3 separate regions of the Homo sapiens genome follow, and all the other regions are linked to region 3. The links are contacts of gene promoters, found by promoter capture Hi-C in blood cells and fetal thymus (Javierre and others, 2016). All regions are on one chromosome and are shown on one strand. Each heading gives the region's core, a stretch centred on a gene start or on the middle of the fragment in contact. The rest is flanking DNA. Distances are from core to core; before and after follow the strand shown.

Region 1 (3,109 bases), core at 581-3,080, 320 kb after region 3:
GTGGTGGCTCATGCCTATAATCCCAGCACTTTGGGAGGCCGAGGCAGGTGGATCACCTGAGGTCAGGAGTTCGAGACCAGCCTGGCCAACATGGTGAAACCCCACCTCTACTAAAAATACAAAAATTAGCCAGGCATGGTGGCACGAGCCTGTAACCCCAGCTGCTTGGGAGGCTAAGGCAGGAGAATCACTTGAACCTGGGAGGCAGAGGTTGCAGTGAGCTGAGATCATGCCACTGCACTCCAGCCTGGGCAACACAGTGAGACTCTGTCTCACAAAAAAAAAAAAAAAGAAAAGAAAAGCAAGTGGACAGGCTTTAGAATTGGATGATCCAGGTTCAAACAAGGGCCCATCCTGGAGTCCTTGGCACTTACTGTCTACGACAATGGTTCTCAAGTAGGGACGATTTTGCCCCCTAGGAACATGTCTGGAGAAATTGGGTATGCTACCGGCATTTAGTGGGCAGAGGCCAAGGATGCTGCTATGTATCCTATAATGCACAGGGCAGGCCACACAGCAAAGAAGCACCCAGCCTCACATGTCAGTACTAGTGAGGTTGAGAACCGCTGGTTGAGGTGTCCTGTCAAATGGGGAAATCTGTGCCCCACAGCCGCCTTGGGGATTAAGGCAGGCAATGGATGAGGAACCCAGGACTGGGCCCAGCACACACTCCACAGTTGCATGGGATTCTCCTCTCCTAAGGACTTTTTGGCCTGGGACATGGTAGCTAGCGGGCAGAGGTGGAGTAGGCACATATTTTGGCTTTCACGAGAGAACTTTCTGAAATGATCTTGATGCTCCTGTCCCACCCAGCTCATGGCACAGTTTCTCTAGAACAATCCCATGCTCATTTATCAACAAGGAAAACCCAGGCATGGTGGCTCACACCTGTAATCCCAGCACTTTGGGAATCTGAGATAGGAGGATCACTTGAGCTCAGGAGTTCGAGACCAGCCTGGGCAACATGGCGAAACACTGATTCTGCAAAAAATAAAAAAAAAATTAGCTGGGTGTGGTGGTGTGTGCCTGTAGTCCCAGCTGCCCGGAGGGCTGATGTAGGTGGATAGCTCCAGCCTGGGAGGTTGAGGCTGCAGTGAACTATGATTGTGTCACTGCACTCCAGCCTGGGCGACAGAGGGGAGACCCTGTCCCAAGAAACAAAAAAAAAAAAAGAAAGAAAGAAAGAAAGAAAGAAAAAGTGGGCTCTGGAAGGAGCCAGCCACCGTTGCCCTCTGGGCACTCACCATCTCACCCCTCAGGCTCCAACAGGGTTCCACGTGACCAATCCCCGAGGGGAGAGGAGACTGCGGAGAGGATGGGAGGCAAAGCACCTCCTTCAAGCTCCAGGGAGGCAGGAGGATTTGTTTAGGAGTGGCCCTGTGCAGAGGTAGGGGCATGGCTGAGAACACCTTGGGAGGTGGTGTGAAGCTGAGTCCAGGAGCCGCCAGCCCTCCCTGCCACTCAGCTCAGGGGTCACTTGGGTAGCTTCAGCCTCAACAGCCGTGGAGTCAAGTGTCTCCTCTACAAAAATAATTCCCAAATAAGTCACTGCCTTCACCCCTGGGACTGGCTGGTGCACCCAAATTGGAGTCGCCACCCAGCCCCCTTGAGCATTGCCTTGCTGGCTGATCCAACAGAGGCAGAATTAGCTGATGAGGCTACCACAGCGGGAGGGAACTGACCTGAGGCCGCCTGGAGAGATGGGACCCCGAGGGCCCTTTCTGGCACTACTCACTTGTTGGGTCTGGGGAATTAAAACACACTCCCCCTCTCTGGGTCTCAGTTTAACAGGGAGGAGACCACCACCTTCCAAACCTCAGTGACGGCATCAGGCTGGGGGTGGTGCTGGGCCTCCTGCGTCTGTGTCTGGAGACGCAGCTGACTCCCTGACAAGCCCAGACATGCAGCTGTTCCTGCAGAGGAAGCAGCAGGAACTGGGGAAGGGCAGAGCGCTGAGGGAGGGGCAAGAGGGATGCAAGGACACCACAGTGACCGCGTGCAGCGAAGCGAGTATGAGCAGAGTCCCAATCTCCAGGTCCCCTCTCCGCGGAAGCACTTTTGTCTTTATTGGAAATTTCCTCCCATGTAACATCTGACCTCTACCTTCTCTTCTACAGATGAGCTCTGCTGTGAGTCCCAGCGGGCTGAGACACTGTGACTGCCCACCTGTCCCCAGGTGCCCCTTCTATACAGCCCCATCCCTTCCCAGGGATGCTCAGTGGCTGCGGCCACCCTTGCTTTCTGCCACTCAGCCCTTGCAGGGGCTTCACACCCCAAGAGGGGCAGTCTGGGCTGGGGCTCCTGGACTCCCTAAGGCATTATCCCATCCCCGCAAGTTGCCCGGCCGGGCCCTGAAGGAAAGGGGCCCCGGACCCAGACCCGAAGGCTGCTCACCAGAGGCTCTGCCCAGGGACTCTCACCTCTCCAGCCACTCCAACTCCCCTCCGGCTTTCCTGTCATTTCCTGATGCCACAAATCTTCTGACATCCTCCCTCTTCCCCAGTGAATTTCTTCCCCAGGCCCTTCCCTTCCTCAACCTGCTTCATACTGGACATTCCCAGCTGGTAGGATCTGCCTGTGGCTCTGCACAGGAGGCTGGGCAAGGGTGGAGAAGACTGGGGGAGCTGTCTCCCATGACCCCAGCAGAGGCGAGAGACAGAAGCTGCATCTGGGACCTGTCGGCTGCAGTTTTGGGCATTCATACCCACCTAAGCATTCTGGAACAGCCCTGAACCTGGGCATCAAACTCCCCAGGCTTGAGAATGGTGAACACTACTATTAGGCGCCCCTTCCTCCAGGCCTATGCCGACTCCCCTGTGCCCATGGAAGCTGTGTAGTCCATGCTGGCTCTGGCTCATGTGGGTGTCCGGACAGTGAGGCCGAGGCGGCAAGGGCCCTTTACTCTGTGCACTCCCAGCTCCCCATCCCAGCCAGGGCAGCCTTGACCCTCCTGCCCCCTTGCTGTGCCATGTGTCAGTTGGCTGGGATCATGCTCTTCCCCCGTCTCCATCAAGAGGATCCAACAGCATCTTGCAGCTAACACTGGGGCATGGGAGTGAGGGAAACAAACATGGTACCCACTCTTCTGTCCTAATGTTTAGAATCATGG
Region 2 (3,243 bases), core at 714-3,213, 340 kb after region 3:
GAGATGGAGTCTTGCTCTGTCGCCCAGGCTGGAGTGCAGTGGCACAATCTTGGCTCACTGCAACCTCCGCCTCCCGGGTTCAAGCGATTTACCTGCCTCAGCCTCCTGAGTGGCTGGGACTACAGGCACGTGCCACCATGCCCGGCTAACTTTTTCAGTAGAGACAGGGTTTCACCGTGTTAGCCAGGATGGTCTCAATCTCCTGACCTCATGATCTGCCTGCCTCGGCCTCCCAAAGTGCTGGGAATACAGGCATGAGCCACTGCACCTGGCCCAAATTACTTTATTTATTTATTTTTGAGACAGAGTTTCGCTCTTGTGGCCCAGGTTAGAGTGCAATGGCGCGATCTCGGCTCACTGCAACCTTCGCCTCTGGGGTTCAAACAATTCTCTTGCCTCAGCCTCCCAAGTAGTTGCGATTACAGGTGCCTGCCACAACGCCCGGCTAATTTTTGTATTTTAGTAGAGATGGGGTTTCACCAAGTTGGTCAGGCTGGTCTCAAACTCCTGACCTCAAGTGATCCACCCACCTAGGCCTCCCAAAGTGCTGGGATTACAGGCATGAGACACTGTGCCTGGTCTCTTAAAAATTTTTAATGAAGTCTTGCTATGTTTGCCCAGGCTGGTCTCAAACTCCTGGGCTCAAGTGATCCTCCTGCCTTGATTTCCAAGTTGTGGAATTACAGGTGTGAGCCACCATGCACAGCCTACCTGCTTCAAACTATTATAGTCTAAATCTTTTGATCTGAGAAGACAGTGGAAAAGGTCTCTCCCTTGAAAAGGAATGTGCTTATTTGTGTAAGAGACTGAGAAAAGTCTTCAACTTAAGCCCTATGAGTTTGCATAGTCATAATTAACATTTAAATTTATTTCAAATCTATGGCTTTCCTCTCATATTTAAGGAAAATACAGGTTATTTTTAATTTAGATTATGCAAACAAAATTACTAGTAAATGTGCTGTTTGTTCTAAAGCTTAAGTTCTAAGGTAGAATCCTTGAGTGTGAAATAATAGAAAGAGAGAAACCTTTAAATATTATTCACAACTATGAACAAATGAGCAATCTCTAAGCCAACCCTCTTAGCAAGATTTAATTGTGGGATATTTTTTTCCTTGTCAGAATCTGCTGTCCTTTGGTCAAACTACACAGACTGCGCCTCCAGGAGCTAGCTGGACAGCCATTAATGCGACACACTGTAACAAAATTAATGTATGTTGAAAGTGGATAGGATAGTCTGACGTATCCCCACAGGGATTCATTCATGCATTACTCAATTATACTTTGGAAGAAATCAAGCATGCCAGCAATGACTTCTGTTGGTAGACGAGTTAGTTCTGCCACAGAAGCAAGAGCACAGTGGTATTACTGATAAGGCCAACCAGAATGGTTTAATCTTTAGGGCCAACTGGCCTCGCAACAACCATGTTGCTAATTCCACTTTTAGATTTATACCCAACAAAAAATCCTTACACATGCACACAAGAAGGTCTGCTTCAGTATTGTTTTTAATAGTGAAAAAAGAAAGGGGAGAAGCCTAGAGGTCCATCAACAGAAGAATGAATAAAATGTAGCACTTTTATTCAGTTATAATACCAGTTAAATGAATAAACTAGATTTTTATGTATGAACATTGATAAATCTCAAAAAATGAGAAGCAAGTTGTAGAAGCATACATATAAAACACAACATTTAACATGTAAAGTCCAAAACCACAAAACAATCATACATTGTTTATAAACACATTCAAACATAGTAAAAATACAAAAACAGGGGCAAGAGGATTTGCATCGACTTCAAGATAGTGGTTACCAATGGAGAGGAAAAGGAGAGGAGAATGGGATTGGAGAGGGATACAAAGGAGATTTAAAGGAAACTGTGATATTTCATTTTTTTTTAAGCAAGAGAAACACTGTTACCAGCAATCCCATTTCTAGGAAGGAAATGACTATACAAATATATAAAATGTACAAATGAGGTTTCAGAAAGCTCATTATCACTGTTGTTAAGAATAACTGAATAATTGCTTAGGGTACCATATGCCAGCCCTTGCCCCATGTACATAAAATCATTTAATCTTTGGAAGACCCTTGGGAAAATAAGTATGATGAGTAATTTGACGTGTTAGCTCGATACCCAGATATTTGGTCAAACACCAGTCTAGATATCATTGTAAGTCTTTTTTAGATGTGATTAACATTTAAAACAACAGACTTTGAGTAAAGCAGATTACACGCCACAGTGTGGGTGGGCCTCATTTAACCAGTTGAAAGCCTTAGAAGAAAAAGACTGAGGGATCCAGAGGAAAGAGAAATGTTGCCTCCAGACTGCTTTCAGATTTGGACTGCAACATCCACTCTTCCCGGGGTCTCCAGCCTGCCAGCCTGCCCTGCAGATTTCAGACCTGCTAGTCCCCACAACTGTGTGACCCAATTTCTTAACAGTAACTCTCTCTTCATACGCACATACACATGCATCCTATTGGTTCTGTTTCTCTGAAGAACCCTGACTAATATACTACATCACACAGTTAGTTGGTGGGGGAAAGTCAGATCTGAACTTCGTCTAGCTCCTAAACTTGCCTCTTATGGGAAAAAAAAATTCAAAACCTGTGTCCTGCTTACAGATGGTCAGTGACATCACTTAAGTATTGTCAATGGATAATTTGTCATTTTTCACTGGACATCATCACTTCCATCTTTTTTCTGGGTGGTGCTTTATAGCTCCCAGTAGCATTTTCATTAATTTTCATAACAAATGAAGTAGGCAGAGCAGATATTAATCACATCCACCTAGGAGTGAGGAAATGAGTCTCTGAGGTTAAGTGCCTTGCTCGAGGTTAGTGGCAGAGACACAGGGGCCAGACCCCCAGGCCTCCTAGTTCACTGCTTTTTCCTATTAAGCTGCTAAAGGTACCAGAGTGCATTCTCTCTTCCTCCATGCAGCCTTGATGATAGAAGCTTCTTTCTAGTGATTTCTCTTATTAGGTCAAGACCATTTTTGGCAATCCACGATGATAAAATAATACTACTGCTTTTCAAAAGTAAGCAAGTCTCCTAAAGAAAAATCAACAAATTTATCTTTGGGGGTGGGAGAGATATTCCAAAGTAACTTCATTCAAGTATCCCTATAGCACCTTAGTCACACCTCCATTACAGAACTTCCTTCGTATATATTGAAATTACCTGCAATTCGAGTACTTAGCCTTAGACTATTAGGTAGTGGAACCAAGAGATGACAGAAGAG
Region 3 (3,395 bases), core at 896-3,395:
CCAAGGGTCCTAGCCCAAAACTAGAGCTCCAGCCAGTGCACTGCCTGGCCAACTGTGGGGCTGGAAAGTCCCGGACGGAAGCTCAGGCTAGTTCTGGGCTCTCCATCTCAGAAAGGAGGTCTGATTGGGGAGCTCACCTCCCAAAGGGCCCTAAAGGAAAGTCCCCAGGTCTCCTCAAGCCCAGAGCAATCTGGTGCCTATGACCCCACAAGCCCTAGAAAAGGAATGGGAGAGGAGGGAGAGTTGGAGGAAGCCGGTGGGTAGACAAGGTCAAAACACAGGGGCAGTGGGTGCTGATGAAGCCATGACCAGGGTCATGGAAGGGGTGGAGGAAGGTTCCCAGCTGCCTAGGCCATAGAAGCCTGGCCCACCAGGGCTGGAAGAGAGCTTAGATATCACCCTGTCCACGTTTCTCAAGAAATGAAGTCCCAGAGGCATCAAGGAGCTTATTGAGATCACACAGTGTATAAAAGGTATGGAGGGGGATTGGAGGGGACTGAGTTAGTCCCTGCCCTTGGGGACCTCTCAGATTAGCAGGGAAGACAGACTCTTCATAACTAAATATAATCCAAGGCACGCCGTAACAAGGTGTAAAGCTCTGTAAAGTATTTTGCCCAGAGATGAAGGTAGGGGGACAGGAGAGGGAGGGTATGTGTGGATGAGTGGAAAGGAAGAGGGCAGACAAAGAAGGGGCTGAAAGAACTTGCCCAGTGGAGGGGTAGAAGTCCCTGGTCTGACTGCCTGGGAAAGGGGAATCTTCTCCACTCCCACCCCTATCCCATGCCCAGCCAGATCTTGGTTCTGATAGCCTATAGCCAAGGAGACTTCCCTTCTAGTGACCTCCTGGCTGCCCAGAGAGATAGGAGGTGGCTTGCCCCTTCTGCACTCTTACTGGCTCCCACCCACACCTGCCGCTGAGCAGCCAAGGAAGGAAACACCTTCTCTTGAGAACAAGGGCCAGAAAAGGGGTCACCGGGGTGAAACTGGACAGACCTGTGGGCAAAGGCAGGGAAGAGAAGGGCCAGGGAAAGATTTGCCAGGGAGAATTCCTTCTGAGCCCCAACAAGCGGTGCTGAGTTGGCGTCTGGGATTGTGTTAAGGAAGACAGGGCAACAGCGGGATTGAGAGATGGAGGGATCCCCGCATCTGAGGGGATACCGGGAGAAGGAGAGCTGAGGCAAGCAGGAGAAGGAGAGCACTGACAAGCCCATTTTACAGATCAGGAATGTAGAGTTTCAGCCTTAGGAGGAGGACGAGGACGAGGACACTCACGTGGGGCTCCTCCTGGGGCTTCACCTGTCCTTCCCCCCCCAACCCTGATCAGGCTGAAGCAGAGGGAATTCACACATGTTGGGTGCCCACTAAGTGTGCCAGGAAATACGCTTTGCCTACCCTTTCCATTCAATCCTCAGAGAACCCTGGGAGGAAGATTCTCTTCTATGATTGTCTCTATTTTACGGATGTGAAAGTAGAGGCCCAGAGACGTGCCGAGGTGATGTGGCAAGGTCAGGGAGCCACAGAGCCTAAGAGGGCAGCAGTTTAAGAGGACATAAGAGGCCCCCGCTGGACGATGCTGCGGCCCCCACCCCCGCCTCACGGGTACACACCCGCGGAGCACACCCCGTGTGCTCCCCGTGTGGCGCCTGCCAGTGGTCTCTGGAACCTGATGGGGAAGAGGTCAGCTTCCTGATTGAGCACAGAAGCCCTTCCCATTTTACAGATGAGGAAACTGACCTCCGGAGAGGAACGTGACCTTCTCAAAGATTCCTTTTTTACTAGGAAAGATTGTTAAATCCCTCTCCCTACGTCCCCTACTCAATGACTCATCGGCCCCACGGACTTGTTCGGGAGTGGGAGCGCCTGTGTATCCCAGTTCCCCCTTGGAAATAGACTCGACTCCTGGACTGTTAGCCTCGGTATTTAGAGAGACATCCCCCTGGCTTGGCCCAGGGGCCGCTCGCAGGGGCTGTCGCCGTGCCAAGGGCCCCCCCACCTCTGCCCCAAAGTCCCTCCCAGGGAGGCGCTGTCGCAACCCGCGGGACGGGGGCAGGGAGACCGGACCCAGAGGCACTGGGGTAGGGCTCGGCAGGGCGGGTCCGGGCGGAGCGCGGGGTGCGGAGGGCGGAGGCGGCTCCGGCGCCCGCTCTGCCCGCCGCTGGGTCCGACCGCGCTCGCCTTCCTTGCAGCCGCGCCTCGGCCCCATGGACGCCCTGTGCGGTTCCGGGGAGCTCGGCTCCAAGTTCTGGGTAAGGCGCGGGGCTCCGGGGTCACTGCGCGGGGGCCAGGGTCGGCCGGCTTCGCCCGGTCCCCGCCGCCTGCCTTCCCGCGGGGCCGGCAGGTATCCCGGGACGGAGCCCCTGAGACGGCCTGGGCGCCCGGGAGGGGGCGATGGGCTCGGGAGGGAGGTTGGCTGCGCCGCCCGGAGCCGGGTCCCACGCGGTGTCGGGGACCTGCCCTGCTCTGCCCTTCCCGGCTGCAGCACTGGGGAGCCCGGGAAAGTGAGGAAGAGTGCGCGGCTGGGGCGCAAAGGCACAGTGCGTGGCTGGGTGAGTCGGCTCCATCCCAGCCCCTCCGTCGGGTGCGGAAGGGGCGTTTCGCAATCAGCCGCGGGTTCCTGATGGAGGGTCTTCCCTCAGCATCTGCCTCAGGTTAGGACTCGGTTGCCCACCTGGGCATGGATTGCCCCCAGGGCATCCAGAGCACCTGCTCAACCAGGTGTTTTGGGAGGCCGGCTGTGCAGTGTCCCACCCTTCTTAGGAAGGTTTCCTGCCACCTTCTTTTCTCTAGGTAAGACTGAGGTCTGAGAGCAGGCCATCCCCACCACTCCGGACTCAGAAGGGAGAAGCAGACCCCAGTCTGGAGACAGGTGCAGGGTGTCAGGATTCCTGTAGTCCAACTCCCTTCTCACAGATGGAGAAAGGGAGGCCCAGAGAGAGGAAGGGACTTGCCCAAAGTTACCCAGTTCAATGAAGGCAGAGCTGGGATAGAAAAACAGGCTACAGGCCAGGTGCAGTGGTTCACGCCTGTAATCCCACCCTTTGGGAGGCAGAGGTGGGAGGATCACTTCAGCCCAGGAGTTTTAGATTACTGTGAGCTATGATCGCACCACTGCACTGTGGCCTGGGCGAAAGAGTGAGACCCTGTCTCTAAAAAAATAAATAAATAAGAAAAGAAAATCAAGCCTTTGGTGACTCTCACTCCAAATCTCTTTCTAAGACAGGCTGCTCTTCAGCCTGCTGACTCCAGCCTCCAGCACAGTTCAGGTGAGCTAAGTGCATACAGCCTAGGAGCTTTCTTACCAACTTGCAAAACTTACTTGCCTCTATGAGGCAAGTGATCATGTGGTCTCCGTTTTACAGAGGGAGCTCAGATTAAAGGTGCTTCTCTGTGGTCAT

Evidence for each region. Contacts are between HindIII fragments. The CHiCAGO score rates a contact against its expected background, and 5 or more counts as called.
Region 1: a fragment that was not itself captured here is called in contact with the fragment with the promoter of ABCC3 in region 3 in 2 of 17 cell types (total B cells and naive CD4 T cells); the score reaches 5.7 in total B cells.
Region 2: a fragment that was not itself captured here is called in contact with the fragment with the promoter of ABCC3 in region 3 in 1 of 17 cell types (naive CD8 T cells); the score reaches 5.7 in naive CD8 T cells.

Annotation. Positions count from the first base shown.
Region 1 is chr17:50,952,533-50,955,641 of GRCh38, forward strand. No RefSeq gene overlaps it. Among named protein-coding and RNA genes, the nearest start is that of TOB1-AS1, 87 kb to the left of the region's middle. RefSeq lists enhancers at 1,350-2,549, 1,361-2,041, 2,042-2,722. The HindIII fragment of the contact is 9,104 bases long and covers 1-3,109 here.
Region 2 is chr17:50,971,486-50,974,728 of GRCh38, forward strand. The region is part of intron 28 of SPAG9 (sperm associated antigen 9); the gene reads right to left. Among named protein-coding and RNA genes, the nearest start is that of TOB1-AS1, 110 kb to the left of the region's middle. The HindIII fragment of the contact is 1,984 bases long and covers 972-2,955 here.
Region 3 is chr17:50,632,736-50,636,130 of GRCh38, forward strand. It overlaps ABCC3 (ATP binding cassette subfamily C member 3), which reads left to right and starts at 2,146. Exons shown (of 31, transcript NM_003786.4): 1 at 2,146-2,246. The coding sequence starts at 2,202. RefSeq lists a silencer at 2,116-2,165. The HindIII fragment of the contact is 5,138 bases long and covers 1-3,395 here.